Linked DNA regions of Homo sapiens: regions 1, 2 and 3 are each linked to region 4. Evidence: promoter capture Hi-C in human tissues and cell types (Jung and others, 2019). All regions are on one chromosome and are shown on one strand. The core of a region is centred on a gene start or on the middle of the fragment in contact, and the rest is flanking DNA. Distances in the headings are between cores, read along the strand shown.

The links. The method cuts DNA at HindIII sites, captures the fragments that hold promoters and counts their contacts. A contact is called where the count stands out against the background at its distance.
Region 1: a contact is called between a fragment that was not itself captured here and the fragment with the promoter of PSMC6 in region 4, in 1 of the 25 tissues and cell types used here (mesenchymal stem cells).
Region 2: a contact is called between a fragment that was not itself captured here and the fragment with the promoter of PSMC6 in region 4, in 1 of the 25 tissues and cell types used here (small bowel).
Region 3: a fragment that was not itself captured here is called in contact with the fragment with the promoter of PSMC6 in region 4 in 1 of the 25 tissues and cell types used here (mesendoderm cells).

What each region holds. Positions count from the first base shown.
Region 1 is chr14:52,451,346-52,454,045 of GRCh38, reverse strand. All of the region lies in intron 18 of TXNDC16 (thioredoxin domain containing 16), which reads left to right. Among named protein-coding and RNA genes, the nearest start is that of TXNDC16, 100 kb to the left of the region's middle. The HindIII fragment of the contact is 7,351 bases long and covers 1-2,700 here.
Region 2 is chr14:52,571,933-52,574,632 of GRCh38, reverse strand. All of the region lies in intron 1 of GPR137C (G protein-coupled receptor 137C), which reads right to left. Among named protein-coding and RNA genes, the nearest start is that of GPR137C, 20 kb to the right of the region's middle. The HindIII fragment of the contact is 7,349 bases long and covers 1-2,700 here.
Region 3 is chr14:52,916,408-52,919,107 of GRCh38, reverse strand. All of the region lies in intron 3 of FERMT2 (FERM domain containing kindlin 2), which reads left to right. All of the region lies in intron 2 of LOC105370500 (a long non-coding RNA gene), which reads right to left. Among named protein-coding and RNA genes, the nearest start is that of FERMT2, 33 kb to the left of the region's middle. RefSeq lists an enhancer at 380-489. The HindIII fragment of the contact is 5,591 bases long and covers 1-2,700 here.
Region 4 is chr14:52,705,829-52,708,528 of GRCh38, reverse strand. PSMC6 (proteasome 26S subunit, ATPase 6) reads right to left here and starts at 1,329. Exons shown (of 14, transcript NM_002806.5): 1 at 1,225-1,329; 2 at 141-220; 3 at 7-46. The coding sequence starts at 1,309. RefSeq lists enhancers at 969-1,018, 1,039-1,288, 1,589-1,648, 1,669-1,778. The HindIII fragment of the contact is 7,628 bases long and covers 1-2,700 here.

The DNA of each region.
Region 1 (2,700 bases), core at 185-2,684, 250 kb after region 4:
ATCCAATTTACTCATTTAGTTATTTTTAAATGAACAATTAAATTATTTTTTACTATATCACCCTGTTATACTGGCAAATACTAGGTCTTCTTTATTCTTTCAAACTAGTTTTTGTACCCATTAACCATCCCTACTTCCCCCCTCCCCACCATTTCCAGTTAAAAAGGCTTTTTTTATCCAAAAGATAGGCAGTAGCAAATGCTGGTGAGGATGTGGAGAAAAGAGACCTCTTGTACACTCTTGGTGGGAATGTAAATTAGTACAACCAGAGGCTGTACTGGGTTTTGTATATGGTGAAAGATAGCAGTCTAGTTTCATTCAGCATATGGATATCCAGTTTTTTCAATAGTCCTCTTCCACTACCCTTCCCAGCTTCTGGTAACCATCCTTTTCTCTATCTCCATGAGTTCAATTGTTTTAAGTTTTAGCTCCCACAGATAAGTGAGAACATGTGCTTTTTGTCTTTCTGTGCCTGGCTTATCTAATTTAACATCATGACCTCCAGTTCCATTCATGTTGTTAAAAATGACAGAATCTCATTCTTTTTTTTATGACGGAATAGTATTTCATTGTGTGTATGTACCATATTTTCTTTATTCATTCATCTGTTGATGGACCCTGAGGTTGCTTCCAAATCTTGGCTGTTATGAATAGTGCTACAATAAATCTGCGAGTGCAGATATCTCTTTGGTATACTGATATTCTTTTGGGAATGTACTCAGGAGTCACATTGCTGAATGGTAAGATATGTCTATTTTTAGTTTTTTGAGGAGCCTCCAAACTGTTCTCCATAGTGGTTGCACTAATTTACATTCCCACTGAGAGTATACGAGGGGTCCCTTTTCTCCACATCCTCACCAGCATTTGTTATTGCCTTTTGGATAAAAGCCATTTTAACTGGAATGGAATAATACCTAATTGTAGTTTTGATTTGCATTTCTCTGATGATCAATGATGTTGAGCACCTTTTCATGTACCTGTTTGCTGTTTGTATGTATTTTTTTGAGAAATGTCTATTCAGATCTTTTGCCCATTTTTTAAATCAGATTTTTTCCTACTGATACAGAGTTGTATCAGTTCTTTATATATTCTGGTTATTAATCCCTTGTCAGATGGGTAGTTTGCAGATATTTTCTCCCATTCTGTGGGCTCTCTCTCCACTTTGTTGATTGTGTCCTTTGCTGTGCAGGACCATTTTGTCTTGATGTGATCCCATTTGTCATTTTTGCTGTGGTTGCCTGTGCCTGTGGGATAATATTGCTCAAGAAGTCTTTGCCCAGTCTAGTGTCCTGTAGAGTTTCCCCAGTGTTTTCTTGTAGTAGTTTCATAGTTTAAGGTCTTAGATTTACGTCTGGAATCCATTTTGAATTGATTTTTGTATATGATGAGAGATAGGGGCCTAGTTTCATTCTGCCTATGGATATCCAATTTTCCCAGCACCATTTATTGAAGAAATTATTCTTTCCCCAATGTATGTTCTTGGAACCTTTGTCGAAAACGAATTCACTGTAGATGTACAGATTTATTTCTGCATTCTGTATTCTGTTCCATTGGTCTATGTGCCTGTTTTTATGCCAGTACCATGTCACTTTGGTTACTATAGCTCTATAGTATAATTTGATGTCAGGTAATGTGATTCCTCCAGTTTTGTTCTTTTTTTGCTTAGGAATAGCTTTGGCTATTCTGGGTCTTTTGTGAATCCATATAAATGTTAGAATTATTTTTTCTATTTCTGTGAAGAATATCATTGGTATTTTGATAGGGCTTGCATTAAATCTGTAGTTATTTTGGGTATTAAGAACATTTTAACAACAGTGATTCTTCCAGTCCATCAACATGGGACATCTTTCTATTTTTGTGTGTTCAGTTCAGTTTCTTACATCAATGTATTATAGTTTTCATCGTAGAGATCTTTCACTTCTTTAGTTAATTCCTGGGTATTTAATTTTACTTGTGGCTATTGTAAATAGGATTACTTTCTTGATTTCTTTTTCAGATTGTTCACTGTTGGCATATAAAAATGCTGCTGATTTTTGTATTTTGATTTGTCTTGCAACTTTACTGAATTTGTTTATCAGCTTGAATAGTTTTTCGATGGAGTCTTTAGTTTTTCCAAATATAGGATTATATCATCTGCAAACAAAGATAAGTTGACTTCTTCCCTTCCAATTTGGATGCCTATTATTTCTTTGTCTTGTTTGATTGCCCTAGCTAGGACTTCCAGTACTATGTTGAATAATAGTCATGACAGTGGGTATCCTTGTCACGTTCCAGATCTTAGAGAAAAGACTTTTTCCCCATTCAGAATGACACTAGCTGTGGCTATGGCATATATGGCTTTGTTATGTTGAGGTATATTCCTTCTGTACCCAGTTTTTTGAGGGTTTTTTTAATGAAGGGATGTTGAGTTTTATCAAATGCTATTCAGCATCAGTTGAAATGATCATATGGTTTTTGTCCTTTATTGTGTTGATATAATGTATCACATTGATTGATTTGTGTATGTTGAACCATCCTCGCATCCTTGGGGTAAATCATACATGGACATGATCAATGATCTTTTTAATGTATTGTTGAATTGGTTTGCTAATATTTTGTTGAGGATTTTTGCATCAATTGATATTCATCAATGATATTGGCCTGTTGTTTTCTTGATATGCCTTTGTCTGGTTTTTATACCAGGGTAATACTGGCTTTGTA
Region 2 (2,700 bases), core at 42-2,541, 130 kb after region 4:
GCACCCATCAACCTGTCATCTACATTAGGTATCTCTCCTAATGCTACCCCTCTGCTAGCTCCCCACCTACCGACAGGCCCCGGTGTGTGATGTTCCCCGCCCTGTATCCATGTGTTCTCATTGTTCAACTCCCACCTATGAGAATGTGCAGTGTTTGGTTTTCATTCCTGTGTTAGTCTGCTGAGAATGATGGTTTCCAGCTTCATCCATGTCCCTGCAAAGGACATGAACTCATCCTTTTTTATGGCTGCATAGTATTTCATGGTGTATATGTGCCACATTTTCTTTATCCAGTCTATCATTGATGGGCATTTGGGTTGGTTCCAAGTCTTTGCTAATGTGAACAGTGCCACAATAAACATATGTGTGCATGTGTCTTTATAGTAGAATGACTAATAATCCTTTGGGTATATATCTAGTAATGGGATTGCTAGGTCAAATGGTATTACTGGTCTAGATCCTTGAGGAATCGCCACACTGTCTTCCACAATGGTTGAACTAATTTACACTCCCACCAACAGTGTAAAAGTGTTCCTATTTCTCCACATGCTCTCCAGCATCTGTTGTTTCCTGACTTTTTAATGATTGCCATTCTAACTGGCATGAGATGGTATCTCATTGTGGTTTTGATTTGCATTTCTCTAATGACCAGTGATGATGAGCTTTTTTTCATATGTTTGTGGCCACATAAATGTCTTCTTTTGAGAAGTGTCTGTTCATATCCTTTGCCCATGTTTTGATGGGGTTGCTTTTTTCTTATAAATTTGTATAAGTTCCTTGTAAATTCTGGATATTAGCCCTTTGTCAGATGGATAGATTGCAACAATTTCCTCCGATTCTGTAGGTTGCCTGTTCACTCTGATGATAGTTCCTTTTGCTGTGCAGAAGTTCTTTAGTTTAATTAGATCCCATTTGTCAACTTTGGCTTTTGTTGCCATTGCTTTTGGTGTTTTGGTCATAAAGTCTTTGCCCATCCCTATGTCCTGAATGGTATTGCCTAGGTTTTCTTCTTGGGTTTTTATGGTTTTAGGTCTTACGTTTAAGTCTTCAATCCATCGTGAGTTAATTTTTGTATAAGGTGTAAGGAAGGGGTCCAGTTTCAGTGTTCTGCATATGGCTAGCCAGTTTTCCCAACACCATTTATTAAATAGGGAATCCTTTCCCCATTGCTTGCTTTCATCAGGTTTGTCAAAGATCAGATGGTTGTAGACATGTGTCGTTATTTCTGATGTCTCTGTTCTGTTCCATTGGTCTATATATCTGTTTTGGTATAAGTACCATGCTGTTTTGGTTACTGTAGCCTTGTAGTATAGTTTGAAGTCAGGTAGCATGATGCCTCCAGCTGTGTTCTTTTTGCTTAGGATTGTCTTGGCTATATGGGCTCTTTTTTGGTTCCATATGAAATTTAAAATAGTTTGTTCTAATTCTGTGAAGAAAGTCAATGGTAGCTTGATGGGGATAGCACTTAATCTAGATATTGCTTTGGGCAGTATGGCCATTTTCACGACATTGATTCTTCTATCCATGAGCATGCAATGTTTTTCCATTTGTTTGCATCCTCTCTTATTTCCTTGAGCAGTGGTTTGTAGTTCTCCTTGAAGAGGTCCTTCACATCCCTTGTAGGTTGTATTCCTAGGTATTTTATTCTCTTTGTAGCAATTATACATGGGAGTTCTCTATTATTGGTGTATAGGAATGCTTGTGATTTTTGCACATTGATTTTGTATCCTGAGACTTTGCTGAAGTTGCTTGTCAGCTTAAGGAGATTTTGGGCTGAGACAATGGGGTTTTCTAAGTATACAATCATGTCATCTGCAAACATATACAATTTGGCTTCCTCTCTTCCTATTTGAATGTCCTTTATTTTTCTATCTTGGCTGATTGTCCTGGCCAGAACTTCCAATACTATGTTGAATAGGAGGGGAGAGAAAGGACATCCTTGTCTTGTGCCAGTTTCAAAGGAAGTGCTTCCAGCTTTTGCCCAATCAGTATGATATTGGCTGTGGGTTTGTCATAAATAGCTCTTACTGTTTTGAGAAGTATTCCAACAATACCTAGTTTATTGAGAATCTTTAGCTTGAAGGGGTGTTGAATTTTATCAAAGACCTTTTCTGCATCTATTGAGATAATTATGTGGTTTTGGTCATTGGTTCTGTTTATGTGATGAATTATGTTTATTGATTTGCATATGTTGAACCAGCCTTGCATTCCAGGGATGAAGCCCAGTTGATTGTGGTGGATAAGCTTTTTGATGTGCTGCTGGATTTGGTTTGCCAGTATTTTATTGAGGATTTTCACATTGATGTTCATCAGGGATATTGGTCTGAAATTTTCCTTTTTTGTTGTGTCTCTGCCAGGTTTTGGTATCAGGATGATGCTGGCCTCATAAAATGAGTTAGGGAGGAATCCCTCTTTTTCTATTGATTGGAATAGTTTCAGAAGGAATGGTACCAGCTCCTCTTTGTACCTCTGGTAAAGTTTGGCTGTGAATCCGTCTGGTCCTGGGCTTTTCTTGGTTGGTAGACTATTAATTATTGCCTCAATTTCAGAAGTTGTTATTGGTCTACTCGGGGATTTGACTTCTTCCTGGTTTAGTCTTGGGAGGGTGTATGTGTCCAGGAATTTATCCATTTCTTCTGGATATTCTAGTTTATTTGTGTACAGGTGTTTGCAGTATTCTCTGATGGCAGTCAGTATTTC
Region 3 (2,700 bases), core at 96-2,595, 210 kb before region 4:
ATTCTTCTTAAAATACGAGTTATGTGATGTACAGATGACCGATGACTGACATAGCTTATCCCAAGGGATGGGGCATGGGCTGAACTATCTGTATATATGTATGTGTGTGAAATTTCTACTTCATTAAAGTTTTTATATTAAGATAAATGCTGGGTTAAGGTGGAACAGGAAGAACCTAGTAGAGATTCTTTCCTTACTAGAATTGTATCTGATATTTAATACTTTATTTTTATGGAGAGGTTAAAGGAACAGGCACTATTTTCAGGGGAACATACATGGCTTTGCAATGTTTCCTTCACATAAGTCACTATTTGATTTTAGTGATTCAGGCAGATTGTGTCACTTCCTCCATTGAAGGCCTGACACAGCTCCTAAGGAAATGACTATGAGTGTTGTCTTCCTTCACCAGTCTACAATTTGAACATCTCTGTAGTATTTCTATTTATGCATTCTGAAATGAGATGTGGGTTACTTTGGCTGACCCAGTTATGTCATATGACAGGAAGTATTCAACCATCTGAGAAAATGTGAACTGCTGTCACTACCACTAGTGCAGAACTCTGCTGTATTTTTTCCTATTTGAGAAATTCTTGGTTAAAGATACATTTAGTGACTTCTCATATTTTAATTCCAAATAAAGTACTGCAGTTTTTTATTCATGTTAAATTTTTAAATTATACTAGTAATTTATAAATACACTCTGTTGTAAAAGAATCAATGAATATAGACATACATAGTAAGCTCCCCCTTCCCCTAAGTAATCATTCTTGACAGTTTGGTGATTTTCTATGCATTTATTTGTCCATACATATCGGATTTTTTTTAATAAATAGGAGCATTTTATATGTATTTTTTAAACTTAGTAATGTCTTAGAGATCTTTCTATGTGTTATACATTCTTTTAAGCTGTAATTCAGAGTATAGACGTACTATTAATTTACATCCAATTACTTCTTGGCCTTTTTGGCTAAGATCAAGTATAATTTATAACCACATTTCCCTGTTAATGATCAGTTAGGTTGCTTCACTCTTAGAGCAAATGCTGCAACATTTTCAAATGTTTTAAATATTGCTGAAAACATTTGAAAATATTTTAGTTGGGCTAGCGCCAGAGTACCCAATCTTCCTTGCTGGTGTCAGCACCCACACTCACTGCTAGAGCCTGTGGGCAAATGCTGCTCCTGTACAATGCCTCAAGCACTGACCTGTGGACAGTATGGAGGTGCTGAGACTACCTACCTCTTAACCCAGAGCCCTGCCTGCTGCTTATGCCTGTAGGCTTGGAGCTTGGAGGAGTCTGAATCCTCACCCATTTCTTGTGTTTAGTTTGGGCTGTGGCTTCCCTTAAACCAATACCAACTTTTTTCTGTCTTCAAGAATCACTCATTATTTACCCTCTTACTGTAGTTTCCTGTCTCCTAGCACTGTTATGGATGTTCATCTTCCCTCCCCGCCTACAATTTTTAAATATCTTTTGCTGTCATTTCAGGGGATTCGGGATGTAGGAGGGGAGATACAGGTAGATTCACATTGCCTTTTTGATCTAATGCCCTTGAAATTTTTTTTAAAGTGAAACAGGGTTTTTATTATTATTATTAAAATAGAGAAAAATACAAAGAATACCAAATTCCCATTATCTGGAATTAATAATTGTTGATATTTTGTCATTTTGTCAAATGACAAATATGACTTGAAGTCAAAGTAATACTGGTAAAATTCTTGAGTCTCATTATCCTAACTTCCCTTTACAAAGCAACTACTATCATAAGTTCAGTGTGTATCCAGTACTGTAAAATACACAGACACACACATACACACACACACACACACACACACGTATCTCTGTGTGTATATATCCATAAACTGTATATGTTATTGCCATTACCACGTAGGTATTTTCTTACTAAGTTTTGTACGTGTGTGCAAGAATTTCTCTCGAGTATCCACCTAGAAGTAGAAGTAAAATTGCTGTTTTAAATATATACATAATTCATTTCAGAGTACTGTCAAATTGTCTCCCAGTTGGTTATACCAGTTTATATTCCAACTAGCAATGTATGAAAACCCGTTGCCACAAATCCTCACTAACACTTGATTATGGTCTGTTTTGTTGTTTTTGTTTCCAAGAGAAAAAGACAGTATTTTGTTTTAGTTTACAAAGCTAAATATGTTTTTAAATCATTATTGGACATCTAAGTTCCTTTTTTTAATTGTTTATATCATTTGTCCATTTTTGAGAAATTAATAAACTGTAGTTTTTACAGGAGTTGTAGGTTCACAGCAAAGTTGAGCAAAAGTACAGAGAATTCCCACATACCCTCTGTCCTCACACATGCACAACCTTCCCTACTCTCAAAGTCTGTACCAGAATGGTACATTTATTGTAACTGGTGAACCTACCTTGACATACCATTATCACTCAGTGACAGTAGTTTATGTTAGGGTTCACTTCTGGTGTTGTACATGCTGTGGGCTTGGAAAAATATATACTCGTGTATCTACTGTTGTGGTATTGTACAGAATAGTTTGACTGTCCTAAAAATCTTCTGTGCTCTGCCTATTCATCCCTCTCTCCTCATCACCACCACTCATCCTTTTACCTAGTTTTGCCCTTTCCAGAATATCATATGTTTGGACTCATACAGTATGTAGCCTTTTCATATTGGTTTCTTTCACCTCGTAATAGGCATTTAAGTTTCC
Region 4 (2,700 bases), core at 80-2,579:
ACTCACATTTTTCTTCAGTTAACTGTTTAAGCACTTCACCCACGATCTAAGGAAGAAAATAAAAAGCATTACTTTTTGGCAACAGCTAAATAAAAAAGCAAATTACCATCACCCCCTATTCCCCAAACTCCATCACCTACCTGCCCAACACTCTGTAGGGCCTTCAGATCATTTTCAGACTTTTCATACTGCTTGGTAAGTTCTTTTAATTGTTCCCTTACTGAAATAATACAATTTGAACATTTTTAATTGAACAGTAATCTTAGTGTGTTTAAGTCGCTACGTCTCACTTTACTGTTTACGTAAGTCTACTTCACTTTACCTAAGTTTCACATCCACTGTTTCAAACCATAAAAGAAATAATGCTGTTTGTAATGAGTAGGTGGCATGTATAACAACAAAATGTTACAGAGAAAGCACCATACTTTTACTTTGTTGATCGGCAATACTTGTTTAAGCACATCTTAAGTTATAGTCTTAGAAGATATTGACACCCTGACACTTAGGATTTGCGACTACAAATCCGAATGATAATCACTTAGACCCTTCCTCACCTCTTCACCTACCCACGTGGATTGTTCTCTGACATTCTACCCTAAATAAAGTCAACAAATGCAGTTCTCCACAGAATCATGTAATTATGGTCCTCCATTTAATTAAACTACTCATGCTTTTCAATGAAAATGCACTGGAAAAAAAAGTTAAGCACTCAGGAGGTAAGGGAAATTTGTATGCCTGATACAGTACAACACGAAACACAAGACGATATGGGTTATTATGACAACTGGAACACTTCTCTCTTAAGCTCCGCGGCCGTCTTTCGACTCCAAGAACAAGCCGACTCCCTGAGTCTCATCTCTTGTTTGAGCTTACTTGACTCAAGCGCCTTCCCCTCTCCAAGTCCCGGGACTCCACCAAGACTGCCCTTCTTGCACCCTAACCTGGGAAACATCCTCGGCCCACTTCCCCACTCCTCCTCTACTTCTTTTTCATTTTCACCTCAAGGCCGCCGATGTTCTGTCACCCGGGCTGGACTGGGCCATTTCTACACCCGAAGGAGTGCTGCTCCACAAGCTCAGGGCCGGATGACAAAGCGCCTTGTCCCTGGCCCTAGGCCTGGTCATCTCTAAGGCTCGGTTGCCGGGCTCGGCGAAAGGCTTCTGCTTTGTCAGAGGCAGAAGCGAGTCGAGGCACTTGATTAAATGGAAAGAAAGGTGCACTCACACTCCTTAAGACGGCCGTCGATCTCCTTGTGTTCAAGCAACTTCTTGCGGTAGTCCTGAAGCGCCTTATCTCTAGGGTCCGCCATGATGAGAAGCCGTCTCTCATAGGGGATGCCGGGAATGGCCATGGCCGTCCGGGCGGGGGAAGGGGCGGGGCGAGGGGCGAAACCCTGCCTGGAGGGGTGGGTTCGCCCATGAGCCCTCCCCTTCCGGTTGGCCCCGTCTTTCTACTCCACTTCCACCTCTATGTCTCGGTTCACCTAGAGCGCCGGCATACACTGAAAGAGGCCTCCACCTATACCGTTTCTTGCAAGCCGAGATAGGTAAAGCAGGACTCAGTTATCCCGGTCTTCCCCTGAGAGGCCTCAGTATTAAGTCACTGCTGTCCCGGAAGTATAAAAGGCTCTGTAATAAACTGAGATGGAAGTGAAGTAGGAAATGTGTAATACCTCAAAGGAGTTCCGATGGCCTGTCGACACAACACAGATGGCCTTTGTTATAACACAGTACTGTCCAAGACCTCCACGTGCTGGAGAAGTAGACAGTTTTATTCATCCATTCAGTCAGTGAATGAGGTATTAAAGGTAGATCTGCTTATCATTTGATAGGAAATAATAATAAAAAAAACTTCAGAGTTTAACAAATACTGTGAAGGAATTAAAACACGGTGAGAAGTATGGTGGGAAGAATTAATCTAGAACAGATATCTGAGATGAGAAGGAGCCAGCCTTGCAACAACTGAAGAAAACCTAAACAAACAGTGCAAGTCCTGGAGTGGAGTGGGGTGGGGGTTGTGGGTAGAAAGCTTGACTCACTTCCAGGAACAGAAAGGAGGCCAATGAGACCAGTAGGGGGTGGGTTGTAGAGATGTGGGGTACAAGATAAAGATGCTGAAGTAGGCTGAGGCAGGAACTTTGAAGTCTGATAGAACCTTCAGATTTATGTATTTATTTATTTACTTTTGAGATGGAGTCTTGCTCCTGCCGCACAGGCTGGAGCGGTGACGCGATCTCAGCTCACTGCAACCTCCACCTCCCGGGTTCAAGCAATTCTCCTTCCTCAGCCTCCGGAGTAGCTGGCATTACAGGTGTGCGCCACCACAACCGGCTAATTTTTGTATTTTTAGTAGAGACGGGGTTTCGCCATGTTGGCCATGCTGGTCTCGAACTGCTGACTTCAGGTGATCCACCCTCCTCAGCCTCCCAAAGTGCTAGGATTACAGGTGTGAGGCACTGCGCCCGGCCAGATTTTTTTTTTTTTTTTTTTTTTTTTGAGTCTGTGTCTCACTCTGTCACCCAGGCTGCAGTGTAGTGGTGCGATCTTGGCTCACTGCAACCTCTGCCTCCCGGGTTCAAGCGATTGTCGTGCCTCACCCTCCTGAGAAGCTGGGATTACAGGCGCCCGCCACCACGCCCGGCTCATTTTTGTATTTTCAGTAGGAATGGGGTTTCACCATGTTGGCCAGGCTGGTCTCCAA